Linked DNA regions of Homo sapiens: all the other regions are linked to region 1. The links are contacts of gene promoters, found by promoter capture Hi-C in blood cells and fetal thymus (Javierre and others, 2016). All regions are on one chromosome and are shown on one strand. The core of a region is centred on a gene start or on the middle of the fragment in contact, and the rest is flanking DNA. Distances in the headings are between cores, read along the strand shown. Region 1 holds the start of ZNF432 (zinc finger protein 432). Region 2 holds the start of ZNF671 (zinc finger protein 671). Region 3 overlaps ZNF549 (zinc finger protein 549). Region 4 holds the start of ZNF550 (zinc finger protein 550).

The links. Contacts are between HindIII fragments. The CHiCAGO score rates a contact against its expected background, and 5 or more counts as called.
Region 2: a contact is called between the fragment with the promoter of ZNF671 here and the fragment with the promoter of ZNF432 in region 1, in 1 of 17 cell types (activated CD4 T cells). The highest score is 7.3, in activated CD4 T cells.
Region 3: a contact is called between a fragment that was not itself captured here and the fragment with the promoter of ZNF432 in region 1, in 3 of 17 cell types (activated CD4 T cells, non-activated CD4 T cells and naive CD8 T cells). The highest score is 7.3, in activated CD4 T cells.
Region 4: the fragment with the promoter of ZNF550 here is called in contact with the fragment with the promoter of ZNF432 in region 1 in 2 of 17 cell types (non-activated CD4 T cells and activated CD4 T cells); the score reaches 10.0 in non-activated CD4 T cells.

Annotation. Positions count from the first base shown.
Region 1 is chr19:52,047,144-52,050,416 of GRCh38, forward strand. ZNF432 (zinc finger protein 432) reads right to left here and starts at 1,695. Exons shown (of 5, transcript NM_014650.4): 1 at 1,552-1,695. RefSeq lists an enhancer at 1,478-2,067. The HindIII fragment of the contact is 4,326 bases long and covers 1-2,295 here.
Region 2 is chr19:57,725,865-57,729,074 of GRCh38, forward strand. It overlaps ZNF671 (zinc finger protein 671), which reads right to left and starts at 1,760. Exons shown (of 4, transcript NM_024833.3): 1 at 1,527-1,760. The coding sequence starts at 1,664. RefSeq lists enhancers at 1,459-1,959, 1,477-1,916, 2,057-2,106 and a silencer at 1,913-2,138. The HindIII fragment of the contact is 7,103 bases long and covers 1-2,503 here.
Region 3 is chr19:57,537,079-57,540,482 of GRCh38, forward strand. It overlaps ZNF549 (zinc finger protein 549), which reads left to right. Exons shown (of 4, transcript NM_001199295.2): 4 at 126-3,404. The coding sequence ends at 1,849. Among named protein-coding and RNA genes, the nearest start is that of ZNF549, 11 kb to the left of the region's middle. The HindIII fragment of the contact is 1,333 bases long and covers 661-1,993 here.
Region 4 is chr19:57,558,325-57,561,526 of GRCh38, forward strand. ZNF550 (zinc finger protein 550) reads right to left here and starts at 1,539. Exons shown (of 4, transcript NM_001397372.1): 1 at 1,332-1,539. The coding sequence starts at 1,358. LOC124904781 (a long non-coding RNA gene) reads left to right here and starts at 1,618. Exons shown (of 2, transcript XR_007067357.1): 1 at 1,618-1,794. RefSeq lists enhancers at 581-660, 805-1,669, 1,111-1,160, 1,647-2,846, 1,791-1,900. The HindIII fragment of the contact is 1,240 bases long and covers 926-2,165 here.

The DNA.
Region 1 (3,273 bases), core at 445-2,944:
CCAAGGAAACACAAGACCCTCAATGTAGGCCAAATGCCTTTCTTCGGTGAAGTGTGGAAGTAACATGAAGATGAAAGGGGAGGTCACAAAGGAGAATCCACATAGCATCATGCCTAAGCAGTAGGTAATTCTCATATCAGTTTTTTAAATCAGGCCATATGGATGGTGAGAAACTACATTTTTTCCTTTATACAATGTTACTCTCACACCTCTTTAAAAGTCTTTATATATATTTAAAAGTGTTTATATACGGCCAGGCATGATGGCTTACACCTGTAATCCCAGCACTTTGGGAGGCCGAGATGGGCAGATCACCTGAGGTCAGGAGTTCGAGACCAGCCTTGTCAACATGGTGAAACACTGTCTCTACTAAAAATAGAAAAAATTAGCCAGGCATGGTGGCAGGCACCTGTAATCCCAGCTACTCGGAGACTGAGGCAGGAGAATGGCTTGAACGCAGGAGGCGAAGTTTGCAGTGAGCCCAGCCATTGCACTCAAGCCTGGGCGACAAAAGCAAGACTCCATCTCAAAAAAAAAAAAAAAATGTTTATATACACACTTCAATATGAAGAACAAGAAACACATAGAAAAAAAGAGGGAGACAGAGAAAAGGAATACGAGTTATAAATACAAATTTAGAAAACAATTCAAAAATATAAATACTGGGAAAATAGCCGCCTTTATATACTAACATACAAAACCTGAAACACCCATAAAAATATGCAGTACATTTGCAAGAGGAAGGATAAAAATAGGCTCTTGTTAATTTGTGCGCAGTAATTTAAAAACATAATGTTAAATAGAAAGCCTATTCATCCGCCCCCCTTCACCCCCAAAAAACTTTCATTTTCTGCAGGTTCAAGAGCATGGGTTGTTGTGGAAAGCCAGAGGATTAGAAAACTCATTGTGGAGGAGGTACTCGGACCTGAAACTTTTAGGAAATGTTAACGTTCATCAAGTCTGTTCCAGCCAAAGTTTGAGCTCAACACACACACACACACACACACACACACACACACACACACACACACACACACACAAAACCAGCCAGGGCTCTTGTGAAAAGACTTCGGCTTTCACTTGTCTCTAGACAAAAGACCACCACCCCGCCAGATAAAATAGGAAAACCTGGAATAGACACACACGTACACTGGATTCCCTTAATGATTCATCAATCACTAAGCCTCAGATTAATCCAGAATGTGAAACAGAAGTCACATTCGTTGACAAAAGCCACCCCATCGATTCTCAATCACTGAGCCCCACTGGGGAGTGACCCGCGAGGACCACAATCCCTGACCTCAGTACTCTTGGTCGTTGATCTATTCAGGCCTTTAATCACTGACCACCAGAGCCTCCATGAGGGACCCCAAAGATATCCTATCACAGACACCCACCAGGGACTCCTACCAGCTCCCCTCCAAAAGGAAACACCCGCCCCCGCCTCCCCCAACCCCCGCGCTACCTCCACCATATAGCGCCACCAACAACGCAGACGCCCTCAGAAAGCTCCCTCCCACCACGTTTCCACGCCCTGACCCACACACTGACCTGACTCTCCTTGGAATCGCCGCGACCTCTTAAAAGCTGAACTTACTTCCCTAAACTTCTTCCACTTCTGGGCCCCTCGCCCAACTCCCTCCCCCTCTAAACCTCCAGAGACGGTCAGCCGCGTTTCCATGGAGAGCGGAATGCGGCCTTCCGGCTTTTCCTCAGGAGGAGACGCGTCCGCGCCGGCGTCGCCTCGCCGCTCTGGGGGCGGCCATCTTTGAGTACGTGACGTACAGAAGGCACAGCGGCCGGGAGACGCGGTGGACGGAGGCCTCTTAAACTGTCCGATTTCCAGACACCTCAGCCCTGGCAGAAAATGGAGAGCTTATCAGAGGCTTGAGTTCACACAGGCAGACACGGCGTGGGGGTAAAGTCCTCTGAACAGACACGGAACAGAAATAAGTTAGTCTTCTCCTCGCAGGGGACAGTGAACGGCGCAAACTTCTCAAAGGCCAGAACCCATTATTACCACAAAGGCGCGGCATCCCTTCTTAGCGGTTATGATGGCTGTGACGTCTCAGCTCAATGGAAAATTAAAGTCACCTCTGGGCACCTCAGTCACTATTGTAAATGCGAAGCGTTTTAGAAGCCGTATAAAAACTGAAGCAAGAGAGACTAGAACAAAAAATAAGCGAGCGGTGCGTTGCAGGTAACGGAGCCAGAGCCCTTAGGGGAGAGCATCATGGGGGCGGCCATCTTAGGGGACGTTCGGTGTCCGTACGGCAGAACATATTCTCTCTGAGAAGCTTGCGGTGGAACTGGCCCATGGAAATGTCTTTAGAAGAGAAGAACCACCTGGCTCTGTTCTTGACTCTGGAAAAGAATCCTTTTCTAGAATTATTTAGGTTGTTGCCAGATTAATTTCCTTTAGAGAGTTTCCTTGCCCCCACGACTTCCTATCTTTAAAGCCAACAATAGTATGTGAAATCCCTTTCATATTTGAAACCACTGACTATTGCTGCTGCATCTCTCCGGTTTCTCCTATTCTTAAGTGCTTGGGCAATCCAGAATAATCTCCCAATGCTAAAGTCAGCTGATTAATAAACTTAATTACAATGCAGAGTCCTTTTTGCCATGTAACATAACCATGGGAATTACTCTGGGGTTGTAGATCTGGCTATGATATGATGACACTAATGAATATTTTGCAATAAAAACATACTATTTTAAAATATATATATACATATATCTTTATATATGTATATTTCTACAGAATTATTACAAGTTATGTCTTATGATGGTTTCTTATAAGAAGCAAGGAGGAAAAGGTCCTTAACATTTTCAATTGTGTTTTTTTTAATAATAAAGCATGCATTCTAATTTACAAAAACCACAATAAAGGTACTTTCATCATGTCAGTCTTGAGGCTGAACAACACTTAACATTCTTTTTCCTTTTACCTGTCTGCCTTCTCCCTTCCCCTACACTCTCTATACCCCACCCTCCAGGCTCTCTGTTCCATCATCTTATGCGTATGGCCCCTTTCCCCTGTGCCCTCTTATTACTTCCATCTATCACGCAGACACACACTGTCACTCCCCTAAACACTCTAGTGTTAAACAATTGCTGCTGATTGTTTTTTGACAAGTGCCCTATGGGTAGGAGTGTTCACATAAATAAAGTCAAGCCAAATAGAGAAATACTATGAGAATAGACCTATTCAGCAGGCTGCAAAGCAGGCTTAGTAGTGAACATTCTGTGGGGATGGAGGCTTTTGGGTGT
Region 2 (3,210 bases), core at 510-3,009, 5.7 Mb after region 1:
CAGAAGCTGCAGTGAGCCAAGATCGCACCATTGCACTCCAGCCTGGGTGACAGAGCGAGACTCGTCTCCAAAAAAAAAATAAATAAATAAAATAAAACCAAAGCCAAGTGCAGTGGCTCACAACTGTAATCCAAACACTTTGGAAGGCTGGGGCCGGTGGATCAGTTGAGGTCGGGAGTTCAAGACCACCTGGGCCAACACGGTGAACGTCCCCCCCACTCCCCCGCCCCCACCCCACCCCTCCCACCTCCCCACCCCACCCCACCCCTCCCACCTCCCCACCCCCGTCTCTACTATAAATACTAAAATTAGCCAGGGGTGGTTGTGGGCACCTGTAATCTCAACTACTTGGGAGGCTGAGGCGGGAGAATCTCTTGAACCCGGGAGGTAGAGGTTGCAATAAGCCACTGCATCCCACCCTGGGCGACAGAGTGAGACTTCGTCTCAAAAAAAATAAAAAAAATAAATAAACTAAAACTAAAAGAAAACACACAAAATGAGGGTGAGATAATCAGATAGTAGCAATAGCACACCACCCATCGTTGCCATCCCAGGCCAAACTCCTCATACCCTACAGCTCTCTCCTCCTGCAAACACTGAAAAGAACCCTTTCAAATGGCAGGACCCTTCTCTTCTGGGGGGAGTCTCAAGAATGCCCACTCCCTCTTCCCTGCCCTGCAGTCCCAGCCTTCTCATCTCTTACCCCAGAGATATGAAATAACATACTTAAGACTGCCCCACTTAAATCTGACCTCCTGGCCTTGACCTACTCCAGACCGCTCCCTTCACCCCAAAGATATTCTAAGCCCAGCCCCTTCCCCACAACTTCAGACCTTCCTCTCTAGTTGCCTAAGTGAGGAAGCCTCCACTCTGAGACATCTCAAAGTCACCATTCCAAAATCCAAACGTTCATGGAAAAACAACAAAAACACCTTGCTCTTTCATGCCTTACTTTCAGTCATAGCTGCATATGATGGAGCAGAAAATCCTGTTGGTTTCAAATTTAAAACCTACCCAGAATATGATCACTTCTACCCACTCACCTGCCATTACTCTTGGTACATCCACCACCAAAGCATTCCTGGAATCCACTGCAGTAGCCTCCTTACCGGTCTCCTCGTATCCATCCTCGCAGTCCCCACCCCAAACTAATGTTCTCCCCTGAGCAAATTTCGAGACACTTAAAATCCCAGCTAAGATCACGTCCTTCTATTCAAAACCCTCAGTTAATCTCAACGCCCTCAGAATGAAGCGACAACTTCTCAGCCTGCCATTCCAGTCACAGTTCCTCAAACTCTGCTCTGTGTTGATGAGAACCCTGTCTCCCAAATGTTTGGGGGTCAGCAGCACCCCCGAGCCTTTACCTGCGCCGTCCCCTCCGCCCGTAACTCTCCCACACCCACCCACACCGAGATAGGACCCCGCCCCAAGAGTGCGTCGCTGTCCTGGGACACAGGGGCTGCAGGCACTTTACGATTCGGAGTCGGAGAAAGGGTGACTGAGGGCCCGGAGGACGCAGCACCCACCCGCGCGGAGTCCGTTAGCTCCGCCATAGGACCGTGGGCGCGGACAGCTGCCGGGAGCGGCAGGCGTCTCGATCGGGGACGCAGGCACTTCCGTCCCTGCAGAGCATCAGACGCGTCTCGGGACACTGGGGACAACATCTCCTCCGCGCTTTCCCAACACCTCCACCTGCGGCCCACACAAGCGTTACAGAACCCCGGCCAGGGACAGCCTGACAGAAACAAAATGTCCGCTACAAGGAGGAGCCGGAAGTCCCGCCCACGCACCCCCCGCAGGCACTGAAACACCCCTCTCCTGGGCCCTCATTGGGTATGCAACGTATAGGTTTGTGGGTAGAGTGTGGTTCCCACTGAGCTATCCTTCAAGGCAGGGGATTCTCGGCCTGGGCTCTTGGGAAAACTCGAAGTAGGAGGGCCAAGTTGTTTGGGAAAAGTAACCCGAGTTTCAAAGGGCTGACAGGACTTCCGTCCTCTTTTTTTTTTTTTTTTTTTTTTTTGAGACAGAGTCTCGCTCTGTCTCCCAGGCTGCAGTGCAGTGGCGCGATCTCGGCTGACTGCAACCTCCGCCTCCCGGGTTCAAGCGATTCTCCTGCCTCAGCCTCCCAAGTAATTGGGACTACAGGGGCCCGCCACCACGCCAGGCTAATTTTAGTACTTTTAGCAGAGTACGGGATTTCACCATGTTGGCCAGGCTGGTCTCGAACTCCTGACTTTGTGATTTGCCTGCTTCGGCCTCCCAAAGTGCTGGGATTACAGGAGTGAGCCATGGTGCCCGGCTGACTTCTGTCCTCTTAAAAGGCCTGGACCTAGATTCCCTGGAGTGTAGTATGCACCGATCGCAGAAATGTTGAGACATTTCAGATGTTCCCCAAAGCTGCAAAACTAAATAGATACACCACACCACAATGTCTCTTTGCGTACACTCACAGCTAGAAGCTAATAACTATTACCTTGTTGCTTTTTAAATATGTGTGCACTCAAGCTTTACAGTAACTTTTGTGAGCTTCAGTTTGGTCAGAGACGGAAGAGAAAATATTCCAAACAAGGCCTTGGAGTGGAAGAAGGAAGAGGGATGATGTGGAGTCTCCCTGAAACCAGTGGACAGATTTCTTCAGAAAACTCTTCCTGCCTGGGTAATCAGTGATGTCTCCATCACAGCAAAACACAGTGCAATTACCATTTAACCTGTCATTGTCATTGTAAGTATGGTGTCTGTGTTAGGAGGTGAGATTATCCCCGGGGGAAAAATCCTGACAGCTATTAATAATGATTCCGTAGTTATTTGAAGATAATGAAAGAAATTGCTCTAAGGAAATATCTGTGATAGATGGACAAAGTTAAGATCTCAGTAAAGTTTGAGCCTGAATACTAAAGTATAAGTGAAAGAATGAAGTTAAGCATATGGTTGTGTTGTGATCTTGACCACACTTTGTCAACAAAATGTGACTCTTTTTTCCTGAAAATGCTGAGCAATTGTAAAGAAGATATCAGAATGGTAAAAATCAACAGTGAAGTTGTGCTGTCTTGATAATTCACTGTTAAAATACACATCCAAGGAACACATACGAGCTCTCAGTAGGTGTTTTTCAAATGTGTTAGTAGCATGAAAGACATCACTAATAAAATTTCCAAGATTCCTATACATACAGGACATGTCCTGCATATAATGATTTTTGTCCTGCATCAC
Region 3 (3,404 bases), core at 77-2,576, 5.5 Mb after region 1:
GCAAGACCCTATCTCAAAGAAAAACCATGGACTCGTCCCTCCCTGTGTTCCACAGGTATTTGTAATGGAGCTGTTCCCTTCTACCAAAGTCTGCATATACTTCACTTGCATTTTTATGCTTTTAGGTTGTTTGCATGGAATAGAGGCTGAGGAGGCCCCTTCTGAGCAGACTCTTTCTGCGCAAGGAGTGTCACAGGCCAGGACTCCAAAGCTAGGTCCTTCCATCCCAAATGCTCATTCTTGTGAGATGTGTATCCTGGTCATGAAAGACATTTTGTACCTCAGTGAGCATCAGGGGACACTTCCCTGGCAGAAACCTTATACGTCTGTGGCCAGTGGGAAATGGTTTTCATTTGGTTCTAACCTGCAACAGCACCAGAACCAGGACAGTGGAGAGAAACACATCAGAAAGGAGGAGAGCAGTGCCTTGCTTCTGAATAGCTGCAAAATTCCTCTGTCAGACAATCTTTTCCCATGCAAAGATGTTGAGAAGGATTTTCCAACCATCCTGGGCCTTCTCCAACACCAGACCACCCACAGCAGACAAGAGTATGCACATAGAAGCAGGGAGACCTTTCAACAAAGACGTTACAAATGTGAGCAAGTTTTCAATGAGAAAGTTCATGTTACTGAGCATCAGAGAGTCCACACTGGAGAAAAAGCTTATAAGCGTAGGGAATATGGGAAATCCTTGAACTCTAAATACTTATTTGTTGAACACCAGAGAACCCATAATGCAGAAAAGCCTTATGTGTGCAATATATGTGGGAAATCATTCCTCCATAAACAAACACTCGTTGGGCACCAGCAGAGAATTCACACTAGAGAAAGGTCTTATGTGTGCATCGAATGTGGGAAATCCTTGAGCTCCAAATACTCACTTGTGGAACACCAGAGAACCCATAATGGAGAAAAGCCTTATGTGTGCAATGTATGTGGGAAATCATTCCGCCACAAACAAACATTTGTTGGCCATCAGCAGAGAATCCACACTGGAGAGAGGCCTTATGTGTGTATGGAATGTGGGAAATCTTTTATTCATTCCTATGACCGCATTCGACACCAGAGAGTTCACACTGGAGAAGGGGCTTATCAGTGCAGTGAATGTGGGAAATCCTTCATATACAAACAGTCACTTCTTGATCACCATAGAATCCACACGGGAGAAAGGCCTTATGAGTGCAAAGAATGTGGGAAGGCCTTCATTCACAAAAAAAGACTTCTTGAGCACCAGAGAATTCATACTGGAGAAAAGCCTTATGTGTGCATCATATGTGGGAAATCATTTATCCGCTCGTCTGACTACATGCGACACCAGAGAATTCACACTGGAGAAAGGGCTTATGAATGCAGTGACTGTGGGAAAGCCTTCATCTCCAAACAAACACTTCTTAAGCATCACAAAATCCACACTAGAGAAAGGCCTTATGAATGCAGTGAATGTGGAAAAGGCTTCTACCTTGAGGTTAAACTTCTTCAGCACCAAAGAATCCATACTAGAGAACAACTTTGTGAGTGCAATGAATGTGGAAAAGTCTTCAGCCACCAAAAAAGACTTCTTGAGCACCAGAAAGTTCACACTGGCGAAAAGCCCTGTGAGTGCAGTGAATGTGGGAAATGCTTTAGACACCGCACCAGCCTCATTCAACACCAGAAAGTTCACAGTGGAGAGAGGCCTTATAACTGCACTGCATGTGAGAAGGCCTTTATCTATAAAAACAAACTTGTTGAGCATCAGCGAATCCACACCGGAGAAAAGCCGTATGAATGTGGTAAATGTGGGAAAGCCTTCAACAAAAGATATTCCCTTGTCAGGCACCAGAAGGTACATATAACAGAAGAGCCCTAGCAATTGTTGGGATGTGTAATTGTCTTATTCACTGTAGGACACCAGAGAGCTGATTTTTCAAGGGATCCAACAGACAGAAATTCACCCTCATACATCTGCATATCACTAGTTGAAAGATTCACTACAAGGTCCAAGTACTTGGGAAGCTTTCTAGAGATTACTTGTACTTTCTAATCTGCCCAGTGTTACAACAGACACTACCATGTGGCATATCCTCACCGTTTTCATCAGTCACTCACATGTGCTCAAGGAATGCAGACCACTGTGCTTACCAAATTCTGAAGGGAATAATATAATAAAAGCCTGTTGAGGGTCCTCTTCCATCTTGCTGAACTGTTCGAGGCAAAGACAAAACCCAACTTTGACCAAGAAGAGCAATCTGGATTCTTGTAGCCCATGGAGGTTTACCTTCTTCATAGGTTTTTTTTTTTTTTATGTGATTGCCATAGTGGGATATTCCCTCTCCCACATTACCCAAGAGGGAAATGGGCTGTCTTACCATGTGCTGATGTATGTGCTCTGCCAGTGTGAAGGGTGAACAGCTCCAACTTTATGTCCCCCCAGGGACATAGTATGAGATCGGAAAATAGTTCTTAGTCCTGTTTGTCTTAATTTTTATTGGTTTCCAAGGTCTCCTAGGAAGGAGAGCAGAGCTGTGTGGTCCTAATCATGGTGTCGATGCCAGATTTATTTGTAGGTCCAGAGGTCTCCCTGAGAAGAGGCATTTGTGACAAACTCAAGTGCTGGGACCTGCATGAATTGTTTATTTGCAGTGATGCTTCATATTTCCCAGCACTGTTCATGGTATCTTATTTCCCAGGTCCTTCATTGTAGCCATGGGCACTGAAGGACTGAATTGGTAGGTAGGTCACTGGTTGTAAGACCTACTGGGGCCAGGTAAGAACAGTAATTGGCCCAGACAGGTAGGTGTGATAAACAGAGTAGAAAAGATTGTGGCCAAGAAGAGTGAATGTGTCCCATCCAAAGGTGCATCCAGATATGTCTGTGTTACTATGGCTTCATGGTTTGGGGGTATATAGAAATTCTCAGGACCTCAGACCTTTGATTCTCCTTTAGCAACACACATCGTCAGCATAAGGCATCTAAAGATTTTGTGGACTCATAACTTATGTACTGTTTTTGAGATGATTGCTGCACGGGCAGGAAAGCAGGATTTGAGAGAACATACACCTTGCCTTCCAGATATGTGGTTTTTGTGATTCACCCAGATCTGTTGTGCCAGTTAGGAATTATCTTTATTACTTCCCGTTTATTGCCACTGCTGAGAAGGCTGTCCTTCCTAACTTGTGAGGAGATGAATCCTTAATAATAAGTAAATCTTGTGTTATCCTATAGTCTGGTTTTCCAAAAGGAGAGGTAGATGCATATTTTTGTGTGGAACCATTTATCTTAAAACATTGAGGTGCAGTTTTCATACACAAAACCTTCTATCTTTTTAAGAACTGTCTGTATGGTTTATTGCCCAGTTAATGGGTTTTGATAGTCATGTTATCTCAGTAAGTGTCTTGTCTTAGAAATATGTGTGTATAGGCTG
Region 4 (3,202 bases), core at 289-2,788, 5.5 Mb after region 1:
GACAATGGAAGAGGAGAAAGAAGATGCGGTCAAAAGGGCAAACCAAGTACAGCCTTGCAGACCATGCTGGTAGGAGGGGGTGGATTTATTGGAAATGTGATGAGAGTCCCTATAAGAGAGGCCTATTCAATCATCAACCATTTATTAAGTACAATAAATGTACTTAAGCCTGGCTGTTCTGGGTCTTGGGAGAGGGAAGCAACAGGCACTCACATTCCAGGGTTGGAAAAAGATCCTAAACAGGCAACTAAATAAATGAGTAAGGCAATGTCAGATGGCCTTAAAGATTCAGATGACAAGAAAACAGAGCAAGGAGACCAAAGAGACTCTGGTCAGCTTTAAACGGTGCAACAGACGAGACCTCTTTAAGCAGCGGACACCAGAGGGAGTCAGAAATAAAGCAAAGGAGGGAGAGGTGGATGAGAAATTAACAACTACGACAGGAGCTGACAGTAATCTGGGCTATCATGAAAGTAATCAGAGTGACTGCTAGAGAGTAACCCTGGGCCTCATGTGTTATCTCCAAAGGGACACTACATCCTGCATACCATCGCCACTGAACATTTTAATGGACTCGTTTTTCACCTGTAACTAAATGTCTTAAACAGGAAAATATACTGTTAGTTGCAACCCAGCGTCCCTTGCCCTAAACTGAAAGACAAATTCCTCAGCCTGCCCTACCACCTTTTCTGCCCTGGCATAGCAGCAACCGCAGAAACGCTCCTCCCACCTCTTTCAGCCGCTGCCCTTCGTGTTGTAGAGACAGGAGGCCAAGGAGGCCAGAGGGTCAGACTCCTGCTGGGGTTGAGTCTCCAAACCTAGCACAGGCCCAGGGAGCAGCTCCGGAAACAACATCCTGAGCGACGTCCCCGGACCGTGCTGTGCACTGAGACGGACACACACACATCACCCAGGGAGCCGTTCAAGCTTCCTCAACCCCGGGGGGGGGAAGAGTAAATATTTCTACTTTGCGCGCGCAAAAATGAAGGACGAGGACAGTAACGGGACTTGTTCAAGGTCGCAGGCCCGAGAAAGGACATGGTTGGAAGAGCCACGAGGAGGACTGCGGTCGCTCCTCTCACCTGTGAGGGGTTCCGGGACCCTAAAAGCCCTATTTCATACCACAACGCCGCGCACCCCAGAAACGGGGACGCTCCCCACGCCACCGCGGGCCTGCATTCCGGACCCGGGACCGCGCGACCCCCTTCTAGGCCTCTAAGAAGCAACGGCAGGGACTGCACTGAGGACGACCCTGAAACGCCGTCCTTCCGCTCGTCGGGCCCGGGACACTGAGGCCGGGTGGCCGCGGGGAGCCGAGCCAGTCTGCTCACCTGCGCTGCGTCCTTCGTCTCCGCCATCCGACCGTTGGCAGGACGAGGCCGCGTGGGGCAGCTCCCACGGGCTCAAAACCCTACCCCGGGTCCTACAACGGTGCGGAGGTGAGCCCCAGTCGCCCTACCATCCTTCCCAGCACAGTTCTGAGAGCGCGGACCAACACGCCCCACCACAAACGTCCACGCCAGCGAGGCCGGAAGTCCCGCCCCTGTGTCGCGGTCGCCTGCCACGCCTTTTCCTGCGCCGGCCCACTGCCTTCTAGGTAATGTAGTCTTGTCCCGTAAGAGGCCAGGCTTGGCTCTTTTTCCTTTTTTATTATGCACACCATGTTTCTGTATATCTCAGATGATCTTAGCGGAGCAAGTGTACACACTGGATTGTAAATTTTTAAAACTTCCTATTATTCGGATGCCTCAACGTCCCTACAAGCAGGCTGTGAGCACTCGCCCAGGCACCCAGGTAAACGAGTTTGATAAAGGGGGCCCTGCCACGAGGTTCCCCGCTTGCCTCCTCTGAGTGACCCAGTGACATTCCCATGTACCAGTAAAATCTTACGCCTGGTTACTGCGTCCTCCTCCACCCTGACGCCAGGCACTGTCCCTGGGACTGGCGTGGATCTGGACCCCCGCTTCCCGCGTGGAGCCATTCCCGGGACATGCTCGTGGGGTTCCGTCTGTGGGACGTCTGCCTCCTCTGTGTGGACTGGTGTTGCCCAGGGCTCAGGAAGGTCTCCAGGGGCCGTGAGTCCCCGCCCGCTTCCGGAGTCCAGCTTCGTGACACCATCGTGAGAAAGAATGCAGGGATGAGTCAAAATGAAGCCAAAGGCAAGAAGCTTTTATTGGGAAGAAAAAGTACACATTTTTGAGAAGAGTGTACTTTTCCCAAGAGAAGAGGGAAATGCGGACGTACGAGGGAGAGCGGGTCATGCACAATGGAGTTTGGGTTTCTAATTTTATGGGCTCTTCTAATTAGGGGGTGGGATAATCATGAGGTTTTTCTAGGAAAAGGTGGGAATTTCTTAGAATTGGGGTGCCAACCATTTTTATACTAAATGTGGGCGTGCTTGGATTGGCCTGGCACTGGTGGGTGTGTGATTTAATGTGGCAATGAGTGTATAATTAGGTCTGGGGTAGGAAATGGGTCAAATCTAGCGTCATGGGACAGCCTAGCCCCAATCCTGTTTGTTAAGGTCTCATCAGCCCAGTCTTCTTGTTGGAGTAGCTAATTTTAACAGCTTGATGTTTTCCCCCTTCTCCTGTGACCACACAGCATTCCTATTTTGTGGGTGTTTCTTTAATTAGAGAGTGGAATAATTATTAGGTATTCTGGAAAAGGAGGGAAATTCAGGGACCCACCTGGTTACTGCCCCCTTTCTCTCTTATTTGGCTTTGCCCAGAAGAGTCATGGACATGTCATCCTGACTGGGATTTTGGCCATTCTTTCTCTTATTTTGGGTTTTCTGTTATCCTATGGTTTCTTTGCCTAGTTCTTGTTTTTATTTGTTGTTCGAATTTTTCCATCCTCCTGCAACCACCCAGTGCTATTCCTATATCACTGTGAGTATAAACACCCTTTAACCTTATAGGCTTCTTGAAGTATAATTCCCAAGACCATGTTGCAGTGGTCCTTAAAGAACCAATAAGGCAGAGAGAAACAAACATGTTCCAAATTTTGTTCTCAGGAGTAAACCTTACTCAATTGTTAAAGGCTGTAGCTAGCTCAAAAGAAGTTTCCTTGACTCTGAAAAACAAAACAAGGATCAGCAATGTTCCAAGCAAAAGTCAAAAAGATTATTTCAGTTTTTCTATTAGTTCAGCCTATTCTGTTAACTCTTGTTCTGCTTGATATTTATAAACATTTTAGCTTT